Regions from separate parts of the Homo sapiens genome. Here region 2 is linked to region 1. Evidence: promoter capture Hi-C in human tissues and cell types (Jung and others, 2019). All regions are on one chromosome and are shown on one strand. Each heading gives the region's core, a stretch centred on a gene start or on the middle of the fragment in contact. The rest is flanking DNA. Distances are from core to core; before and after follow the strand shown.

Region 1 (4,444 bases), core at 1,308-3,807:
TACATAAAGTACCTGCAAGAGCTGCTGAGCTCGGCCCCCGACGGCTCGACGCCCCCCGCTTCCCGCGGCCTCCCGGGCACCGGGCCCTGCCCCGCGCCGCCCGCCACCCCCCGTCCCGACCGCCCTGGCGACGGCGAGGCCCGGGCGCCCTCCTCCCTGGTGCCGGAGTCATCCGAGTCCTCCTGCTTCTCCCCGTCGCCTTTCTTGGAGTCGGAGGAATCCTGGCATTGATCGGGCCTGTGGCCGCCCCCGGCTTGGAGGATGATCCGCCGGCCCCGTCCCACTTTCGGGAGCAGCGGGAGGCTGTTGGGTCACCCGCGATGCGCCGCAGGACGGTGACTGTAGGAGGTCCGCGGCGCTCCCGTGTCTGCGACACCCTCCCTCCTCCACCAGCTTGGGGCGGAAGTGCAGGGCAGCGGGTACGATGGGCACGATAGAGACCTAGGAGCTCCGTGGGTGAAGCGAGGGGCAGGGCCTGGGACTGCTCCGGGCGTCCTGCGTCCCCTCCGGGGTGCAGAGGGGCTCCCCAGGACGGTCATCCCTGGGTCTGGCTCCCGCTCGGCCTCAGGTGGCTCTGCTCCGTCCTTCCTTGCCGCAGGCGCAGTCCAGTCTCTGCGAGTCCCCGGGATGCGAGCCCGACTTTGAGCCCTCGGTTACCATGCCACTGCTCTCCACCAGATGGCCTCAGATACTAGCGACTTCTTTGGGAGCACGCTTACTCCTCGAGAAAGGAACCCAGAGGAAGGGATGGGAGGCCAGATTGCTGCTGGCGCTCAGCCCAGACCGAACCTACAGACTCAGCAGAGGCGACCTGTGTGCCCCGGTGGCGTTCTCTGGCTTCCTGGGTTGGGAGGGGGGGTTACTCCCTCCCCGCATCCCCCCCATGAGGTCGTCTAGTTTTGTCCCAGGTTGGGTGGGGACTGTGGTTTTTTTCCCTCAGACTGTAAGCCTTGGGGGAGGGGGGCGTGCATATAGGTACATAGGCACTGCGTCGGCACCAAAGAGCTAAATAAAAGGATTGTTGAATTTTCTCATTCCTAGATCATTGTCTACCCTCACCCTTCCTGGTGCCCCTTTCTTATTCTCACTCCCAGCCCAGAGTACTTGCTGGGAGGATATGTGGGGTTCGCTGTTAGCTCAGCACATTTAAGATTCAGTGTTGTTAGCTCAGGCGTTCAATGAATTTTTTTTTTTTTTTTTTTTTTTTTGAGACAGGTTTTGCTCTGTTGCCCAGACTGGAGTGCAGTGATTCAATCCCTGCTCACTGCAACCTCCTTCTCCTGGGTTTGAGCAATTCTCCTGCCTCAGCCTCCAGAGTAGCTGGGATTATAGGTGCACACCACCACGCCCGCTAATCTTTGGTATTTTTAGTAGAATGCGGGTTTCACCATGTTGGCCATGCTGGTCTCGAATTCCTCACCTCAAGTTATCTACCTACCTTGGTTTCCCAAAGTGCTGGGATTACCGTGGCTATCCTCAATGAACTTTTCTTTTTGAGACAAGGTCTCACTCTGTCTCACTCTGTCATCCAGGCTGGAGTGCAGTGGCCAGATCTTGGCTCATTGCAGCCTCAACCTCCCAGGCTCAACTGATCCTCCCACCTTGGCCCCCCTAGTAGCTGGGACTACAAACACACACCACCATACCCTGCTAATTTTTGTATTTTTTGTAGAGACAGAGTTTCACTACGTTGCCCCGACTGGTCTTGAAGTCCTGAGCTCAAGCCATTCTCCCACCTCAGCCTCCCAAAGTGTTGGGATTACAGGCGTGAGCCACCATGCCTGGCCTCAGTGAACATTTACAGGGAGCATAGTACATAGGGGGACTGTGCAGAGAAGGGGCCAGAGTCCCAGAGATAATGCACACAACCTTTACACCTGTAGGGATGGGAGGAGATGGGGAAGAAAGATACACAGCAGATGCTCCACAGTGAGGCAGGTGCTATGCCAGAGGTGTGCACACTCAGGGTTGTTCTGGGAGCCTTCTAGCCCACTGGAGAGGGGTTTACTGTTTCTCTGACATGGGATTGCTTGTGGGGGTGGGTTGAGGGTATGCTTGGGGAGTTTTGGCTGATGGTGCAGATACTGAGATGGGTAGGGGCTGCTGTGGAGCTGTCCTGACTTAGGCTGCCCAGTGCCTTCTCCAGACAATGTCATGGGGCTGAGGAGGGGTAAGCCTAATTTTGGCATGAGGGGGCCACTCTGCAGTTTGAGGTTCCATATCCAAGGCTACCTATTCCTGACCTCTGTTGCCCCAGGCTTGAAACCTTCCATCCTGTCTCCCTCTCCCACTGCCCCTGCCCCATCCCAGGCCTGTGTGTAAGTTCTTCCCCCGACCCACCCCACCCTCCTCAGGGGACAGATTGGGAAGTCACTGGCTGGGCTGGGTGGAATGACAGCTGCCTGGCCTCAGAAGCTCAGGCCCGGCAGCGGGGAGCCGAGTGGAGGCTAATTTTACTTGCTGGGAGCGAGGAGAGTAATCCTCCTGCCCCCACTCCTGCCCCCGCCCCCTGGCTGGCTCAGCAGGGCAGGCTCAGCCGACAGCCTCAGCCAGCCTAGTCCCCAAGGCGGGGGCATTGGGGACACAGGGAAGGGAAAGCACTGGGGTGGGGGAGCAGGAGAAAGCCAGATTCCCAGGGAAGCCATGGAGCCATCCTCACCCCAGGATGAAGGCCTGAGGAAGAAACAGCCCAAGAAGCCAGTTCCTGAGATTCTGCCAAGGCCACCCCGGGCCTTGTTCTGCCTGACCCTGGAGAACCCCCTGAGGAAGGCCTGCATCAGCATTGTAGAATGGAAGTATCCTTCAGGGCCCGGGCCGTGGGGGGGGGTGTGCGTCATGAGGGAGGGATTCGGGGTGATCACAGAGCACAAACTTCCTACAGGAGGGCCAGGGAGGCCTGGCACTTAGACATGGGGTGAACTCACAGAATTGAGTGAGGAGCTGGGGGAAGGAGCCCTCGGCTAAGCAGGAGAGGAGGAGGAGGAAGAGGAGGAAGACGAGGAGGGTGGGGGAGGAGGAGGAAGAGGAGGAGGGTGGGGGAGGAGGAGGAAGAGGAGGAGGAGGAAGAGGAAGAGAAGGAGGACTTGGTGGGGCTTCCTGGGCCTGAGTGGGCCACCCAAGTCCTGGATGACAACCAGAGATGCCTACTGACCACCTATGGGTGGGGCCTGTTTCATGGGGACTGTTCCCATGTGTGCCCAAATCCACATTATCATGGGGTGCCACTAGGTTTTTGAAGCACCAGCCTCATTTTAGAATAGGATAGGGACCAAAAAAAGATGCGATGGCCTCTTTGAGAAAACTCTCCCTTGTTTGGGTTGGGTGGGGGGTGACAGTGGACAGAGGTGAGCTGAAGGAAGGCTTCCTCTGGGGGCAGGTCCCAGCTGAGGACAGAGCCAAGGGGAGAAATGGATCTGAAAGACACCTGGTCTCAGTGGCTCCAAGACACAGGCCAAACAAGCCTGGTTGTTCTAGCTCAGACGTGCCACCCTGGGGACAGGGACTTTGAAACTCATGCTATGTTTGCATTTGCTCTGGTGGGGAGAATGATGAAAATATCTGGGTTATTTGGGGAAGGGAGGAAGGAGTGACAGAGAGAAGGGGAGGGCTGTGTCAAGTGGGTTCTGAGAGCGAGGGTGGGGCATATTTGAAATATTTCTGAAGAGTTCTGGAAGGCTGGGCTCCTACCAGCTGTTCCCTAGAAGGAAGGAGAATGAGGGATAACTGGAAGGACAAGAGAAACGTGGGGCAAGTAGAGATAGTTTGGGGTCAGGGTCAGCCCTGTTCCCCTGACCCGCTCTCGGCCAGGCGGTATATCGCCCACATCAAACCCTCCTAGGCCCTCCCTCCTTGCCTCTCTTCTGCAATCAGGTTTACTCTGTGGGTTCTCCCTCTCCTCCATCCTCTGCTCCTCTGCGCCCTGCCCCTGTGGCCCTCCTCTTTTCTCAAACACTGGAGGTTACTGGGAAGAGAATGGGATTTTTCTGTCAAGCCCAACTACGTAATATGCCTCCCCATCCACCCCCAAACAACTCCCTCGCTTCCTCCCTTGCTTTCTCTAGCTCTTTCCAGACTTGCTGCCTAATGGGCCAGAAAGTCGAGAAAGCCATGGGCCTGGGGTACCCTCTGGAAATGGCTGTGGCGGGGTGGGTGTGTCTGGGAGGGGTGAGGTGTGATGGGTGTGAGCACGTGCACACCAGCATGTGCACATGGCTCTGGAAATTCAGCATTCATCTCTCCATCTCTCCTTCCCAGTCCTACTCAGTGAGTTCTCAACCTTACCCTGCATCAACCCTTACCCTCCCATGCCATTTATCTGGGTAAGCCTCTGTGGATTGGCCAGAATCTGCCAAAGTCATGGCTCCTTGGGAGCAGGCAAGGGCATGGACAGGCGCTGAGAGTGGAGCGGTGTGAAGACCCCCTAGGCCTTAAAGCTGAGGAGCCC
Region 2 (4,444 bases), core at 1,176-3,675, 70 kb after region 1:
GTACTGAGTAAGAACACTTCTCAACCTGGAAGCCTGGGAAGGGCATGAAATTTCCACCCATGGGGTCAAGAGATGACTCAATTGGAACAATTAAGGTGTGGGCTATCCCAGAGGCCAGAGCAGGACCTGGTGGCCTCTCAGGTACCTGAGATATTCAATAACCCAAGAGGGAGAGTGGGGCCTAGGCTGGGGCTTTGGGAGAGCCCTGGGTACAGTGATAAGAAACAAGTAAGCCATACGAAGCGGTTCTAGCCAGGCACGGTGGCTCATGCCTGTAATCCCAGCACTTTGGGAGGCCAAGTGGGTGGATCACAAGGTCAGGAGTTTGAGACCAGCCTAGCCAACATGGTGAAACCCCATCTCTACTAAAAATACAAGCATTAGCAGGGAGTGGTGGCACATGCCTATAATCCCAGCTACTCAGGAGGCTGAGGCAGGAGAATCACTTGAACCCGGGAAGCAGAGGTTACAGTGAGCTCAGATTGTGCCACTGCACTCCAGCCTGGGCAACAGAGTGAGACTCTGTCTCAAAAAAAGAAAAAGTGGTTCTGGTCTCCTCTCCTGGGCTGGAGAGATAACTGAGTCCCTTCGTCATCCCCAGGCAGGGCTGCGGACCATTGAGGAAGAGGCAGCCCCCGAGATCTGTCGCACGGTCTCAGGAGACCTGGCTGCTGAGGAGGAGCTGGAGAGAGCCATGGTGGAGGCTGCGATGGAGGAGGGAATATTCCGGGTGAGGGAGAGCCAGGAGCACCCCTAGTGGTCTAGACACCATGAGTGGCAGTGTCTCACAGAGAGGAGGGCTGGGAGCCCAGCCACACGAGAGGGGGACATGGGAGCTGAAGATACCCCACTCCGTCTCTCCACTTCACCACCCACCTCTCCTGGGACTCAGAATCAATGACCTGATCTACTAGAGGTGTCAAATGCAACACACTCTTTCCCACATTTCCCTACCAAATCTCACCCCTTCCCTTTCCTCCCCACAAACCCTAGGCAACGACCCATCTCCCAGAGGCCCTCCAGGATCAAATGCCCTGCCTGCCTCCACTGAGGCCAGTCCTCCATCCTTAGCTCTGTCTCATGTTTCTTATAACACTTTATTGCTGGAAGGTCTTTAATGACACCTAGTTAGGTCTTTTTGGGTTATTCATGAGGAAATAGTGGCCCACAGAGATCATGTGAGATGTCCAATATCACCTAGTAAATCAGTTTCAGAGCGGGGACTAGAACCCAGTGCTGCAGACTCCCGATTCAGCCCTCTCTCCCCTACACCACACTTCTCTTCTGTGTGCCTGTGTCCCCTATATACCTCCTTAGGTGTGTGCTGTCTACCCCATCAAACAAAGAACTTTCTAAGGGTGGGAATTTTCTTCTTTTGATCTCACCACTCAGTCCATCCTCCTTTGGCCTTATAAGATTTGTCTCCCAATACTATTGCTTGTTCCCAATACCACTGTCCCAGAGTGACAGCCCCCCATGCCCTCCCTGCCCTCACCCCCAGTCACTGCTCTTCTCCTTGCCCCTAGAGGACTGGAGGCCTGTTTGGCCAGGTGGACAACTTCCTGGAAAGGACCAACTCCCTGCCCCCCGTCATGGCCAATCAGAGACCCCTCCAGTTTGCTGAGATAGAGATGGAAGAGATGGAGTCACCTGTCTTCTTGGAGGACTTCCCACAAGATCCACGCACCAACCCCCTGGCTCGTGCCAATACCAACAATGCCAACGCCAATGTCGCCTATGGCAACAGCAACCATAGCAACAGCCATGTGTTTTCCAGGTAGTGGCGGCCACTGCCATCCCTGGGTGTAGAGGTACTGGGAGGACAATGTCAGCAGGTTCCAGGTTGGATTGGAAGAGGGTACCCCAAATTTGTAGGGTGTCTTTTGCTTGCCTTTGTGCCCCAATCCATCCTGAACCTTAATGTAAGAGGCCGACCTCGATGGCAGAGGCTTCTTTGGCCAGCAGGGGGAAGCCTCACATCATGTCAGTATTGGCCCCAGTGTTGAGAGGTTCTTTTATTCCGTCGGCTTCAGCAAGTCTAGGAGCTGAGACGTATTGAACACATGATAGGTTAGGAGAGGATCTTCGGTGGTAGCACATACCACAAAAGACTGTGGACAATAAGATTCCATCACTGGATTTAGGTTCCAAGGAGATCCCGCTGTGCTGGGTGGTTCCCATCTCACCAACCTTGGGCTGTAGACTAAATATAATCTGTGATTACGTAAGTGTCATAAAAAACAGCAGGATGAGGGGGAGAACTTCTCAGCAATCATAACTTAGGGGCTAGGCTCAGGCAAAGCTTCTGTTCTAGACAGGAGGTCAGCTGATTGGAGGCCTCTTCGGCCTGGAAAGGCTTAGCCCCAGGCCTCAGGAATAAGCAGAACAAGGCAGCAGCCAGCCCCTTTTCATGGCCAGGGCTGCCTGCACCCCTTCCAGTCACAGAGACCCCTTAAATTCAGCCCACAAGCCTTGAAGGGTGCATGTACCTTTTTGGGTCACCATGGTGCAAGGTAACGTGGAAATACAGAAGCATCAGCCCTGGGCCCTGCCCTGAAGGGGGTTGTCGTCTTGTTGGGTGATATGTTATGTGATATGATTGGGACCAAATAATCACAGAGGCCAGGAGTGGTGGCTCATGCCTGTAATCCCAGCACTTTGGGAGGCCTAGGCAGGTGGATCACTTGAGGTCAGGAGTTCGAGACCTGCCTGGCCAACATGGAGAAACCGTGTCTCTACTAAAAACACACAAAAAATTAGTCAGGTGTGGTGGCGCATGCCTGAAATCTCAGCTACTCGGGAGGCTGAGGCAGAAGAATCTCTTGAACTCAAGAAGTGGAGGTTGCAGTGAGCTGATTGTGCCACTGCACTCCAGCCTGGGTGAGAGAACAAGACTCCGTCTCAAAAAAACAAAACAAAACAAAACAAATAAACAAAAAACACCAAATAATAACAGATATTTAGTGTCCTGAGAGTGCAGAGGGGGTATGGATCACCATGGGCTGGAAAGACCTAGAATGGTTCTCAGCCTTGGCTGTGCATTAGATAATCCAGGGAGCTTCTGCAAATCCCAATGCCTGGGCCTCACCACAGATGCTGGGTGTGGGACTCAGCCACCACTCACCTTTGAGCTCCTCAGGTGATCCTATGTGTGGCCAAGATGGAGAAGCAGGGTTCCAAAGGCTGGGAGGCTGCAGCTGGGCCTTGGAAGATGAACAGAATGTAGAAAGGGTAGAGGGAGCAACTGAGCAAAGGAGTGGAGTCAGGAATGCTCTGGACTCCTTCCTCCTAGAGAGTCAGGGCTGGCTGGGGCACAGTGGTGGAAACGTCAGCCCTAGAGTCACGGCTGCTACACTAGGTTGGCCTTGTACAGGCTCTGAGGGAAAAGGATGTTTGGGGCCAGAGAGGCAGGGATGCCGAGAGAGCTAGCAGCCTTCTCTGGTTCACCCAGCCTTGCTTCCATTTCAGTGTCCACTATGAAAGGGAGTTCCCAGAAGAGACAGAGACGCCTGCTACCAGAGGACGAGCCCTTGGCCAACCCTGCAGGGTCCTGGGTCAGTCCCTTCTGTGCATCTAAGAAGCTTGAGTCTTCTCCCAGAGGAGTCCGGGAAGCCCCACTCTTTTCTTAGAGTCTGGGAACTTGGCTGGGAGGGCTGGCTTGGGAGCCTGTTACAATGGCAGTCATCTGGGCCCTGGAATGGGAAAACCATCAGGACCAGCTACTTGTCCAGGGGGGAAGCAGGGCACCATCTAGGTGGCTGAGTGAGGTGGAAGGGGGAAAGCCCATTCATGCTAAAGGGCCCTCTGCAGGCCTCCCAGGAAACTCACACAGCCCCCTACACCATCCCCAGCACAGGAGTCCCCACACCGCCCCAGGTCCCTGGAAGGGCAGCCCCTGGACACACTGACGTCTTGACTCTGGGGCCCTTCTGCAAATGATCTTGTAGTCTAGTATGTCCTAGACTGCTGTGTGACAGTAGGAGCCCCAAGGATGCTGGGGGCTAGTGGCAATAAGGATACTGCTGTGTTCCCCAACACACTTTCACTTTAATGTGCACACACCCAGGGACCACAGAGGACCAGCTTGGCCAGAGACTCTGGCCCTTATCCCCTCTCCCAAACCTTCAAGAACAGCGACCAGGGCCAGTAAAGTTGGGGCAGCCCTGCCTGGCCTGGAGTTGATTGGGCCTCATCATGTGTCCACCCTCTAAGACACCTTCTGCAGCCCTGAGAATCTCAGAGCTCTCACAGAGTGTGGCTAGCCAGCCAAGCGAGCCTCTGTTGACTCAGGGCTCCTGGCAGGAGTCAGCAGCCCCTCTTATCCTTGCCCCTTCTTGCATACAGGACCCCACAGCAAACCCTGTGTGGAGATGCTGAAGGGACTGCTGACCCAGAGGGCAATGCCCAGAGGCCAGGCACCTCCTGCCCCCTGCCAGGTAACAGT

What was found. The method cuts DNA at HindIII sites, captures the fragments that hold promoters and counts their contacts. A contact is called where the count stands out against the background at its distance.
Region 2: a fragment that was not itself captured here is called in contact with the fragment with the promoter of CACNA1S in region 1 in 4 of the 25 tissues and cell types used here (H1 embryonic stem cells, lymphoblastoid cells, mesendoderm cells and 1 more).

What each region holds. Positions count from the first base shown.
Region 1 is chr1:201,110,539-201,114,982 of GRCh38, reverse strand. CACNA1S (calcium voltage-gated channel subunit alpha1 S) reads left to right here and starts at 2,557. Exons shown (of 44, transcript NM_000069.3): 1 at 2,557-2,795. The coding sequence starts at 2,644. It overlaps ASCL5 (achaete-scute family bHLH transcription factor 5), which reads left to right. Exons shown (of 2, transcript NM_001270601.2): 2 at 1-1,040. The coding sequence ends at 231. RefSeq lists a silencer at 381-430. The HindIII fragment of the contact is 14,734 bases long and covers 1-4,444 here.
Region 2 is chr1:201,040,614-201,045,057 of GRCh38, reverse strand. It overlaps CACNA1S (calcium voltage-gated channel subunit alpha1 S), which reads left to right. Exons shown (of 44, transcript NM_000069.3): 39 at 602-730; 40 at 1,527-1,777; 41 at 3,469-3,554; 42 at 4,345-4,436. Among named protein-coding and RNA genes, the nearest start is that of KIF21B, 19 kb to the right of the region's middle. The HindIII fragment of the contact is 6,224 bases long and covers 1-4,444 here.